Regions from separate parts of the Homo sapiens genome. Here region 1 is linked to region 2. Evidence: promoter capture Hi-C in 16 types of primary human blood cells and fetal thymus (Javierre and others, 2016). All regions are on one chromosome and are shown on one strand. Each heading gives the region's core, a stretch centred on a gene start or on the middle of the fragment in contact. The rest is flanking DNA. Distances are from core to core; before and after follow the strand shown.

The links. Contacts are between HindIII fragments. The CHiCAGO score rates a contact against its expected background, and 5 or more counts as called.
Region 1: a contact is called between the fragment with the promoter of EFCC1 here and the fragment with the promoter of CNBP in region 2, in 6 of 17 cell types (naive CD4 T cells, non-activated CD4 T cells, naive CD8 T cells and 3 more). The highest score is 7.6, in naive CD4 T cells.

The regions. Positions count from the first base shown.
Region 1 is chr3:128,999,212-129,004,753 of GRCh38, forward strand. EFCC1 (EF-hand and coiled-coil domain containing 1) reads left to right here and starts at 2,093. Exons shown (of 8, transcript NM_001377500.1): 1 at 2,093-3,113; 2 at 4,583-4,866. The coding sequence starts at 2,418. It also overlaps a transcript of CFAP92 not described here. The HindIII fragment of the contact is 12,645 bases long and covers 176-5,542 here.
Region 2 is chr3:129,182,446-129,188,073 of GRCh38, forward strand. CNBP (CCHC-type zinc finger nucleic acid binding protein) reads right to left here and starts at 1,451. Exons shown (of 5, transcript NM_003418.5): 1 at 1,331-1,451. It overlaps LOC105374101 (a long non-coding RNA gene), which reads left to right and starts at 1,629. Exons shown (of 2, transcript XR_924469.3): 1 at 1,629-2,027. RefSeq lists an enhancer at 1,785-1,874. The HindIII fragment of the contact is 13,108 bases long and covers 1-3,469 here.

The DNA.
Region 1 (5,542 bases), core at 843-3,342, 180 kb before region 2:
TGCTCACTTTGAACCTTAAACAAAAACCTTGTGGATGCAACCAGAATTATTTCAGAGGTGCCTGGTAACACCGCAGGGCAGACAGACAGGCCTGACAGCAAACCATTATCAACCCTTACTTCCCTGAGCTGTAGGGGAGTGGAGGCCGGCAACGGCTCCCAGCAAGACATTTAAAAGCTTTCTTTTCAATATTGACTGGCCCAGGAAAGCTACTGTTCAAAGGATTCCTTCACCAGCTGCAGGGATGGGGGGTGGGGAGGGTGTTGCACTCTTGCCTGGGCTACCAGCTCTTAGGGCTGACATGAAATAAAATCAGGTTCTTTTTTTTTTTTTTTTTTTTTTTTTGAGACGGAGTCTCGCTCTGTCGCCCAGGCTGGAGTGCAATGGCAGGATCTCAGCTTACTGCAACCTCCGCCTCCCAGGTTCAAGCGATTCATCTGCCTCAGCCTCCCAAGTAACTGGGATTACAGGCGCCTGCCACCACGCCCAGCTAACTTTTGGTATTTTTAGTAGAGATGGGGGTGGTTCACTATGTTGTCCAGGCTGTTCTCGAACTCTTGACCTCAGGCAATCCACCCGCCTCGGCCTCCCAAAGTGGTGGGATTACAGGCGTGAGCCACCGCGACCGGCCAAGAAAAAGAAACACATGAGAACATCTTAACAAAAGGGAAATACTGCAGTGTCTCCCATCTGCAGAAAGAACCACTGAATCCACTTATGAATCCCTCCATCTTCTTCTGTGCACTCACATACACATGTCCTAGTAGAAAATACTTAGTATTGTTTTGTGTGTTTTTGTTCTTGTTATGTAAGCATCAGTGTTGTGCATAATCAGCTTGTGGCTTGCTGTGTCCGCTCATCCTCGTTTGCTGAGTCCTAGCTGATTTGATGGACACCAGGTTGTCTCCAGTTTCTCACTGTAATAAACAATGATGCAGTGAACATCCTGTGCACAGTGGCTTTCGAAGGTAGAAGCCAAGAAGTGGACGTGATGTAAAAACTTTGTCAAATTGCCATTACTTTTATAATTAAAAACAAACCTAAAAGAATATGTCCAAAATGCTTGGGGAGAAGCCTCTAACTCCTTCCCAGCAGATATGTACTCTGGGCAAAGCCTTCAAGAACAAGTACGAATTTGCCAAATGGACAACGTGCTGATTCTGGGATACTGTGGCAGAGGAGACAGAATGCTATCGCTTTTCAAACGGCAAGATTTTACATTTAAACTCACAGAGTTATCCACAAGGCAAGATTCTGTCTCTGTCATAGCTAGGAACAGCTGAAGAGTCTGCCTCTTGCTCCAACATGGCTGGGTACCGTGGCTGGATAACCGTTCCCGGTGCAGGTAACAGGTGGACAATATCACAATATCACTGCACCCCTCTCGTGAAAAAGAAAGGGAACACAGTCTAGCACTCACCAGAGAAGCAGGTTTTTCTTCATCTTCCAGAAATGTGTTCTAAAACACCAGAAAAAAACATCAGCCAATCATCGACCTGTTAACCTAACCCCAGCTCAAGAGATGGAACTCGGATCCCATTGCCAAGTCAGCACCGGCAGGCACAAAGGTGGCAGGGCCGGGAGACACCACTTTCCCGAGAGTCCTATCCCCACCCCCAACAGGGATCGGGAGAGAGCAGTTAGCACAGGGCTCGTCTCAGATGGGCTTCTCACCAGCGGGGTGCCCCTAACCTAGACCCCTTGCCTCTCCAAGCCTGTTTCCCTCTCTTTCCCAGTTACTACTTGGGGCTCTTTGCACGGTCTATGGTGGCACAAGAAGTGGGTTCGGAAACCCAGTAGCTGAATTGAAGCGGAGGGGAGGCTTTTCCGCACCTACGGCTACAGGGCGGCGAGAGCAGGCTTGCCAGGCAACCCTCGAAAGGCCTTCCGGGAAGAGGGGGAAGAGTGACGCTTGGGTGTGGGGGCACATCCCCAGCAACCGGACGAGGCCGCCACCCCCAAGGCCCTCCTGGGCTTCGGATCCCGCGCCAACCCCTCGCCCAGGTCTCGGAGCGAACTCTCCGCGCCAGGCGGGCGGGGCGGAGGGAGGAGGGAGTTGAGAGTGGACGGCCGGGAGTGGGAGGAAAAGCGCAGACGCCAGGAACGCCCCGTGAGTGAGGAGAGGAGAGCGTGGGAGTCACGCGGAGAAGCCAGACCCAGACGCCGACCGGGCACTGGTGGCGCTGCCGGGGTCCCGGGGGTTCCTGGACCCCCTACCCCAGGCCCCTCCAAAGCAACTGGGGTAAACCAGACGCACTGTGAGGCCAGCGCAGCTGCTGGACACGGTCCCCGGCGCCGCTCCAACCAGACCGCGACCGCTAAGCCCCTCCTTTCGAGAAACTCTGGGGCCGCCCCTGGAAGTGGCGGGGCGAAGGGACCGGAGGAGGGACCGGAGGAGCGAGGCGCGCGGCGCAGCGATGGAGCCGGTCAGCACGGGCGCGGAGGCCGGCATGGAGGGCGCGGGAGGTGACCCGTACCGGCGACCTGCGCGGCGCACGCAGTGGCTGCTGAGCGCCCTGGCGCACCACTACGGGCTGGACCGCGGCGTGGAGAACGAGATCGTGGTGCTGGCCACCGGCCTGGACCAGTACCTGCAGGAGGTCTTCCACCACCTGGACTGCCGCGGCGCCGGCCGTCTGCCCCGCGCCGACTTCCGAGCGCTCTGCGCTGTGCTGGGGCTGCGCGCGGAGGGGGCCACCACGGCCGGGCAGGCAGCAGGTGACGGGAACTCCAGAGATGTGACCCCCGGGGATGCGGCCGCTGAGTTGGCCACGGACGGGGACTCAGATACCGATGAAGAGGCGCGCCTGGCGCTGCGCGCCGAGCCGCCGGAGCTCACCTTCCGCCAGTTCCACGCGCGCCTCTGTGGCTACTTCGGCACCCGTGCGGGGCCCCGGCTGCCCCGCGGCGCTCTCAGCGAGCACATCGAGACGCAGATCCGCCTGCGCCGTCCGCGCCGCCGCCGCCGCCCGCCCTGCGCGCCTGGCCCCGACAGCGGTCCTGACTGTGAGCGCGTTGCGCGGCTGGAGGAGGAGAATAGCAGCTTGCGCGAGTTGGTGGAGGACCTGCGCGCCGCGCTGCAGAGCAGTGATGCGCGCTGCCTAGCACTGCAGGTGCGCGCCGGCCACGAAGGGAGGGTGGTAACGCCCGGGAGAGGGCTCGAACTAAAAGCTGGCTGGCTGCGGAGCCCGACAGGACAGAGTCAGAGGAAGGGGAGACAGAGGGCAGCCCCACACCATCCCACTCCGCATCAGCACACTTGCATCTTGCCCCTGTTCCTCCCCATTCCACTCCAGTCCCCAACCCTATTCTTACCACCTATTCCATTCCTGAAAACCCCAATCACACTCAAACAACCATACCCCACTTTTCTGCTCCACCGCCACATCATCGCGTCTTGCCCCTTTAACCTAGGAATTGCACCTGTCTGGGTAGTCTCACATATTCCCTTTCAACAAGCATCTTTCTCTCTCCTTCCTGCCAGGCTTCTGGGAGGTTTAGGAGACAGAAGTGTGAAGAAGGCCCTGTCCTCACCTTTAGGGATATCCCTGCCTCCTGGGGTAGACTGACAGCTCCTTCTGTCAATCAGCAAAGACTTATGGGGCTCCCTGTGGGAGAAACAGAGACAAGTGAGAAACAGACAATGTGGCTCACACTGTGGATCAGGCACTCACGGGCCACCAAGTGCCTGCGGGAACCAGACCCGCTCTGGGCTATTGAGAAGAAACCATGGGGTGAGATAGGGACCCAGCCTTAGCATCTGGGAGCCGTCGACAAACACTTAAGCACTGTGCCAGCCGAGCACCAAGGGCAGTGCTGGGCCGCAGGGGTCAGAGGAGGAAAGGAACAGCCCCTACCCCAGGCGACAACAGGCCAGGAAGAAACTGACATTATATGACCCCGCCTTAGCTCAGGACACTGCAGAGTGCAGGGAAGTGGCAAGGTGTGGTTTTCAGTGTCAGTGTGCATGGAAGCCAGGGTGGAGGCGGGAAACTACTCCTCTGATGTGGAATCCCAAGTAACGTACTGGGAGCCATGGGATGCGCCTGAACGGTCTTCCGGCATCTCTCATGCTTGGTATTTATTGAGCACCTACTATGTGCCAGGTTTGTTTTAGGCTCTGGGAACACACCAGTAAAGACAGATAGAAACCACCCTCAAAAGCCTCTAGTGAGCAGGCACGGGGAGGGCTGGAAATGCCACTGGGGGGAGTCTAGGAGATGAGGAACCGCCACCCGGCAGGCTGAACGCCGCCAATACAGTAGGCCGAGAAGAGTCGCGAGGTTGGTACTATAGAGGGAACAGAATACAGGCGTCGTGTCTCAGTTTCCTTCAGTGAAAAAACGTTGGGGGGTGGGGGATGAGGAGGAATCAGAGCTTGGGCCTCCCTGGGGATGTGGCGAGGGTTAAAGGAGCTTGGACGCACCGGACCTAAGGGCCTGGCACCCGGAAGCAGACGGCGCAAGAAACGTGCTCAAGCGCTTCTGGGTGCAGAGGCATGGGGCCGCCGTCGTGGCGGGCGTTCGTCTGGTGCATCTGGCTGGGGCACTTACCCCCTGCCCCTGCTGCCCTGTCCCCGCAGGTCGGACTCTGGAAGAGCCAGGCGAGCACCCACGAGATGGGGCACGGCGGGCCGGAGGCTGCGGTGCGGGAGCTGCGTCAGGCGCAGGGCGCCCTGGCTGCGGCGGAGGCCCGCGCTGGGCGGCTGCGCCGTGGCCAGGCCGAGGTGCGGCGGCGCGCGGAGGAGGCCCGGCAGGTGGTGCTGCGCAGCCTGCACCGCGTGCGAGAGCTGGAGGCGCTGGCGCAACAGGTGCCCGGCTTGCAGCGCTGGGTGCGGCGGCTGGAGGCGGAGCTGCAACGCTACAGGTGAGCGGGGGCGCGTGCCCTGGGCCCAAGTTCCCCAATTCGGCTCCCATTTTCCCAAACTTCGGGTGTGCAATCCCCCTCCCACGCGCTCTCGTGTTCCGCAGTTTCTCCATGCGTTTATTCATGTATTCTTTCATTCCTTTGTCAGTTCTCCATTTCTTAAGTTATAAGTCTGCTCCATTGCTTGCTCTGCAACCATCTGCCCACCCATCCATTTATCCATCCATCTGTCCATCCATTCACCCACCCCACACACCCACCCATCCATCCATCCATTTGTCCATTCACTCACCCCCCCCACCCACCCATCCATCCACTCACCCATCCATCCACTCACCCATTCATCCATCCACCTATCCACTCACCTACCCACCCGTCCATCCATCTATTCATCCATCCACTCACTCACCCACCCATCCACTCACCCACCCACCCATCCATCATCCATCCATCCCCCCACCCACCCAGCCAGCCAGCCGTCCATCCATCCTCCTGTTCATCCACAAACACCCTCTATTTGTTTATCATAGATTGCAGTTGAATGTGCTCATTCTTATTTGTTCCTGGATTCGATCATAATGATAATAGCTTACAGTTACTAAGCACTCGCTGTTTGCCAGGCCTTGAGCTAAGTACTTTATGTGGCTTAACTCATTTAAGCCTCACAGCTGCCCTG
Region 2 (5,628 bases), core at 201-2,700:
GTGGCTGAGGCCATATGGTTAACATGTGGGAACAAGCACAAGCCTTACCCATAATAAAATCAACACCTAAACCCAAATGTGGACCATTATGCCATTCTAAAACAGGTTCTCACGATATGGAAAAATCTAGATGGAGGGGAGCTAGTTGAATTTCGTGTCTCGTTTGTAATTACATCTGTTTCATTAATCCAAGAAATGATGCAGACTACCGCCCGCTGCTGTGGTTTTGGAGGTTTGACAAATTCGTGTTTTTTCTGGTAATGGCGCTTTTAAAGGATCCCAGCAACTTAAATAGTGTTAACTCTTGGAATGTGAGCCCCATCAGCCCCTTTTGGAATGGTAATGTAACACAAGCAACTTAGTATTTAAATGACGATAAAAATTCAAGAATCGGAAAACTATCAAGGATAGGGAGTATAAACTCTAAAAGCTCCCAAGTCTTCCAGCAGTCTCGCCACTCCAAACACAAAGGCTTCTTCAGGAACCCTTTGTTGTTGTTTGTTTGTTTGTTTGTTTGTTTTTTTAAGACGGAGTCTCTCTCTGTTGCCCATGCTGGAGTGTAGTGGCGCGATCTCGGCTCACCACAACCTCGGCCTCCGGGGTTCACGCGATTCTCCTGTCCAGCCTCCCGAGCTGCTGGGACTACATGCGCCCGCCACCATGCCCGGCTAATTTTTTATTTTTAGTACAGACCAACTTTCACCATATTGGTCAGGCTGGTCTCGAACTCCTGACCTCGTGATCCGCCCGCCTGGGACTCTCAAAGTGCTGGGATTACAGGCGTGAGCCACCGCGCCCGGCCTAAGAACCCTTTTCTAAGGCCCCCAAAACCCTTGGCACATGGCCCGCCAGGCGCACGACCCCAGCACATGGCCTGCACGACTATACCCACCCCATCCCCCCTTCATCCGCAGCCGGGAGCCTTTCCCCACCACACGGACTCCTTCCAGTGAGTTCCCGCCAAATCCACCCTCGGTCCCTCATTCCGCGACCCTCGAAGCGTCAGGGCCTCGGCCCCAAGGGCGCACGGGCGGGCCTCCTCTGCCCTAAGCCTGCGGCCTGGGGTGCGGCCGTGGCGCCGAAAGACCCGCATGCTCGGCGACCCAGCTTTCCAGGACGAAGAAAGGACAGAAGTGTCGTCCGACAGCGGTGCGCCAGAAACCCGGGTCCGAGGCGGCGGCAGCAGCCGAGCTTCCCGCCTGACGCAGCAGAGGCGCAGGCCAAAGTGCGGCCGCCATCGCCACCTCGCCGCTCCCTACCCTCTCTGTCCGCCACAGACCCGACCCGCACTGCGGCTCCGTCAGCGCCGGGCCCCTCCCCCAGCCCTCACCTTCCGCGTCGGAGCGGGCCCGCAGCGGCGGAGACTCGGACGCAGGCCTGGGGAAGACGGCTCGCAAGGTAGAGGCTGTTTATTTTGAGGGTCCTTGCCTGCGCCACACGCGGGTCTGCACACGGCCCCACATACGCCGCTGCGCACGGCTCTCCTCCGCCTCGCCCACGCGGCCAATCAGCGCGCGGGGTTCGGCAGTCCAATCAGAGCCGCCCGCGGCAGGGCCGCCCACTAGAGCGCGGCGCGGGGCGGGTGTTTCTGCGCGCAGCGTCTTTTCCCGCCGTGCCCCGCGCGCGGCCTTTCACGCCGGGATCCGGGTCCCGGTGCTTCTCGGTTCATTCCCAGCTGGGTCCGGGCCCGGCCAGACTGGGTGGAAATCTGGCTGACCTTGGTGGTCTGTCTTGGCCAGCTGGAGCAAAGGGATGCCAGGGGACGGGTCTCGGTGCAGTGACTGCCATTAGCTTGGGGCCGCAGAAAGTTTCTCCCCTTTCTCGGGCTCCTGCCAGGCCCTTGGCTTTCAGAGCCAGGCCCGATTTCTAGATAACATTTAAGTTTGCAGAAAAGGGGATGCCAAGTCACGGTGGTCACGGCTGTGGGATGCAGCCTCTGAGATTTGTATTAATTTTTGTGAGCCGGGGAAAGGCCTTGCTGCTTTCTCCGCCAGGACTGATGTGTCTTCCCAAGATGAAAGTGCCTGGTAAGGGCGAGGGGCCTCCCTGGGAAGGTCATGAGCATGTAAGGTAATGGGGCCTAGACTGTGACTTTTGGCACGTTTATGAGTGACATCCCCCGGGAGGGCAAGGATAACCATTTGACCTGGTCTGTCATATTCAGGAATAGACTTCAGTTTAGTTGTGGTATTTTCTCCAAAAGAGATTTGTGTATATAGCCCTAGATAGTCTTGTCAAGATTAAACCCAATTTAAACTGTTAACTATAAAATATTTTAGAATTTTGTCTCATTCTAGAATGGCTTTATTCGAAACAAAAAAAAAGGAAGAGTCCCAAGTTTCGTCTCAGTGAAACCTGCCAGTTCAACACTATGATTTATTTTTCTTTTTTTCTTTAATTTTTTTTTTTTTTAAGAGTAGGGTCTTGCTCTGTCGCTGGGTTTACAGGCATAAGCCACCAATCCCAAATCCCGGGGCTATGATTTTTGAAATCATGTTCGTGAGAAGGCAGAGCACATGTGTTGAGAGTCAGACTTTAAACCTGGGTTCAAATCATTAGTGCTTAATCATTGTAAAGCAGTTAGGAGGTTGCGTTCAACATAGCAATTATCAAAGAATGAATGTATAACTTTAAAGACCAATGATATTTTAAACTTTTTTTTTTTTTTGAGAACGGAGTCTCACTCCGTTGCCCAGGCTGGAGTGCAATGGCACGATCTCAGCTCACTGCAACCTCCGCCTCCTGGATTCAAGTGATTCTCCTGCCTCAGCCTCCCCAGTAGCTGGGATTATAGGCATGCGCCACCACGCCCGGCTAATTTTGTATTTTTAGTATAGGCGGGGTTTCTCCATGTTGGTCAGGCTGGTCTCAAACTCCCGACCTCAGGTGATCCGCCCACCCAAAGTGGTGATCGTCCTCCCAAAGCACTGGGATTACAGGCATGAGCCACCGCGCCTGGCCGAACTTTTTAAATTTATTTATTACTATTTTTTGAGACAGGGTCTCCCTCTGTTGCCCAGGCTGGAGTGCTGTCTCAGCTCACTGCAACCTCCGCTTCCCATGTTTGACCAATTCTGCCTCAGCCTCCTGAGTAGCTGGGACTGCAGGCGCCCACCACCACGCCTGGCTAATTTTTGTATTTTTAGTAGAGATGGGGTTTCATCATGTTGGCCAGGCTGGTCTTGAACTCCTGGCCTCAAGCGGTGCTAGGCCAAAGTGCTAGGATTACAGGTGTGAGCCACTGCACCCAGTGCCCCCAAAGTGCTAGGATTACAGGTGTGAGCCACTGCACTCAGCCTTAAACATTTTTTTAATTAAAGCAACCTAAGGTAAAATTTTTTAACCAAATTTAACCCATTCCCAATCAGATTGAATAAATGCCTAGCAGCTTATGTGTTGTGCTAAAACACGATATATTATCTGCCAATAAAAAACAGTATTTTGTATTTATATAGTTTTATTACCAAGAAGCTTACTCAGCTTTATGATTTCCCCTTTGTAATCTGATTAACCTTCATAGTATCTTGAAGTAATGTATAGTGTAGCAATCAGACACTTAGGTAGTGACTTCGTGAGCTCTGACAATGAGTCAATATAATGCAAGAGGCTATGTATGAAGTCCAACCTGGGTGCGTCCACACCACACCAAGAGGACAAGTTAAAATTACCATATGGCCAAAAATTAATATTTTCTGACTTATTTTTGTTTACCATTCCAACCATAGTACTGTATAAAATGTTTGCTATTCATTATAGACCCAGGAATGGAATATTCCTAATATTAAAACAAAAATTTCAACAGCTATAGAAAATGAAAGTGAGTGTGAGATAGAGATACTGGACATAATGTTCTATAGGTTTTAAAAGACTTAAGTAGAAGAAATGGAAACAATGTCTTTACTTCTTGGCAGTGGAGTGGTAACAGCTAATGGCTCTTTCTACCTGGCATGCAGCTTCCTGTAACGACTATTATTAATAGAGCCAGGCTGATCGTGAGGCGCCAGAAAAGGTGTATGGTGGAATTTAACTACAATGGCTTGTATTGCCTGGATATACCCTTTGGTATGCCTATTTTACTAGAAATGTTTGAAAATAGGAAAAAGCTCACTCAAAAGATAAGCTGCCAGTGGGACTTGAAGAGGCTCCCATTACATTCCTCTTCCCTGGAGATGTTTTATTCCCCTCCTCTCCTCCAGTGTTCAGTCTCATGCTCAGCATTGCAAGGGTTACAAAGGTGACTACTTAAGACACAGAGTTTGCCCTTGAAGAACTTGCAGGATAACAAGGGCCATAAGAAAGTATTAAGTGTCGGCTGGGTTCGGTGGCTCACGCCTGTAATCCAGCACTTTGGGAGGCCGAGGCGGGCGGATCACGAGGTCAGCTGATCAAGACCATCCTGGCTAACACGGTGAAATCCTGTCTACTAAAAATACAAAAAATTAGCTGGTCGTGGTGGCGGGGACCTATAGTCCAAGCTACTCGAGAGGTTGAGGCAGGAGAATCGTTTGAACCTGAGAGGCAGAGCTTGCAGTGAGCCGAGATCACGCCACTGCACTCCAGCCTGGGTGACGGAGCAAGACTCAGTCTCAAAAAAAGAAAAGAAAAAAAAAACAACTTCCCAGCACTTGGGAGGCCGAGGTAGGTGGATCACCTGAGGTCAGGAGTTTGAGAGCAGCCTGGGCAACATAGTGAAAACTTGTCTCTACTAATAACACAAAAATTAGCCGAGTGTGGTGGTGGGCACCTGTAATCCCAGCTACTTGGGAAGCTGAGGCAGGAGAATCGCTTGCACCTGGGAGCAAGAGATTGGGCCACTGCACTCCAGCCTGCACAACAGAGGGAGACTCTGTCTCAAAAAAAAAAAAAAAAAAAAAGTCCGGGCACGGTGGATCACGCCTATAATCCCAGCACTTTGGGGGGCCGAGGCAGATGGGTCATGAGGTCAGGAGATCGAGACCATCCTGGCTAACAAGGTGAAATCCCGTCTCTACTAAAAATACAAAAAATTAGCATTAAGTATCCTGAGAGAAGACCAGATAAAATGCTATGATTCAGCATTATTCCTAAAATGGGTACCAGTTGAGCAATACCTGCCAACTCTTAATTTCTGCTTAAATGCCCAACTGCATAGTACATGCTGTTAAATTGAGGGGATAGGTGATATCATGTAAACCCATGTCTTGTCCCTGCCAGCAAGGAAATTGTGCTCTGTGACTTGACTTGGAAAGTATGTAACTAAGACTGAGGAGAATAAATTGATGTTTTCACCTCTCGTATTTGCTTCTGAAGCAGAAAGTTTACTAAGCTAAATCCTGAACTAGGAATTAGTAATACTAGTAATAGCTAATTGTTAATATATATACAGCTCTTATAACAGTTTCTGGCATAATTACTATACAAATATTATTTCTTATTCTTATTGGGTGCTTACTGTATGCCAGGCAATGTTTTTAACCTCTTTATGAGTTTTCACAAACCCCCTAGAAGTACTTGTATTATCCCCATGAAGAAACAGGTCGAGAGAGTTTAAGTAATCTGCTCAAGGTCAGAAAGTGAACAAATGACAGGTCAGGCTTCAAACACAGACAGCCCATGTGCTTGAACAGTGCTACTGGCCTCCCAGTACTT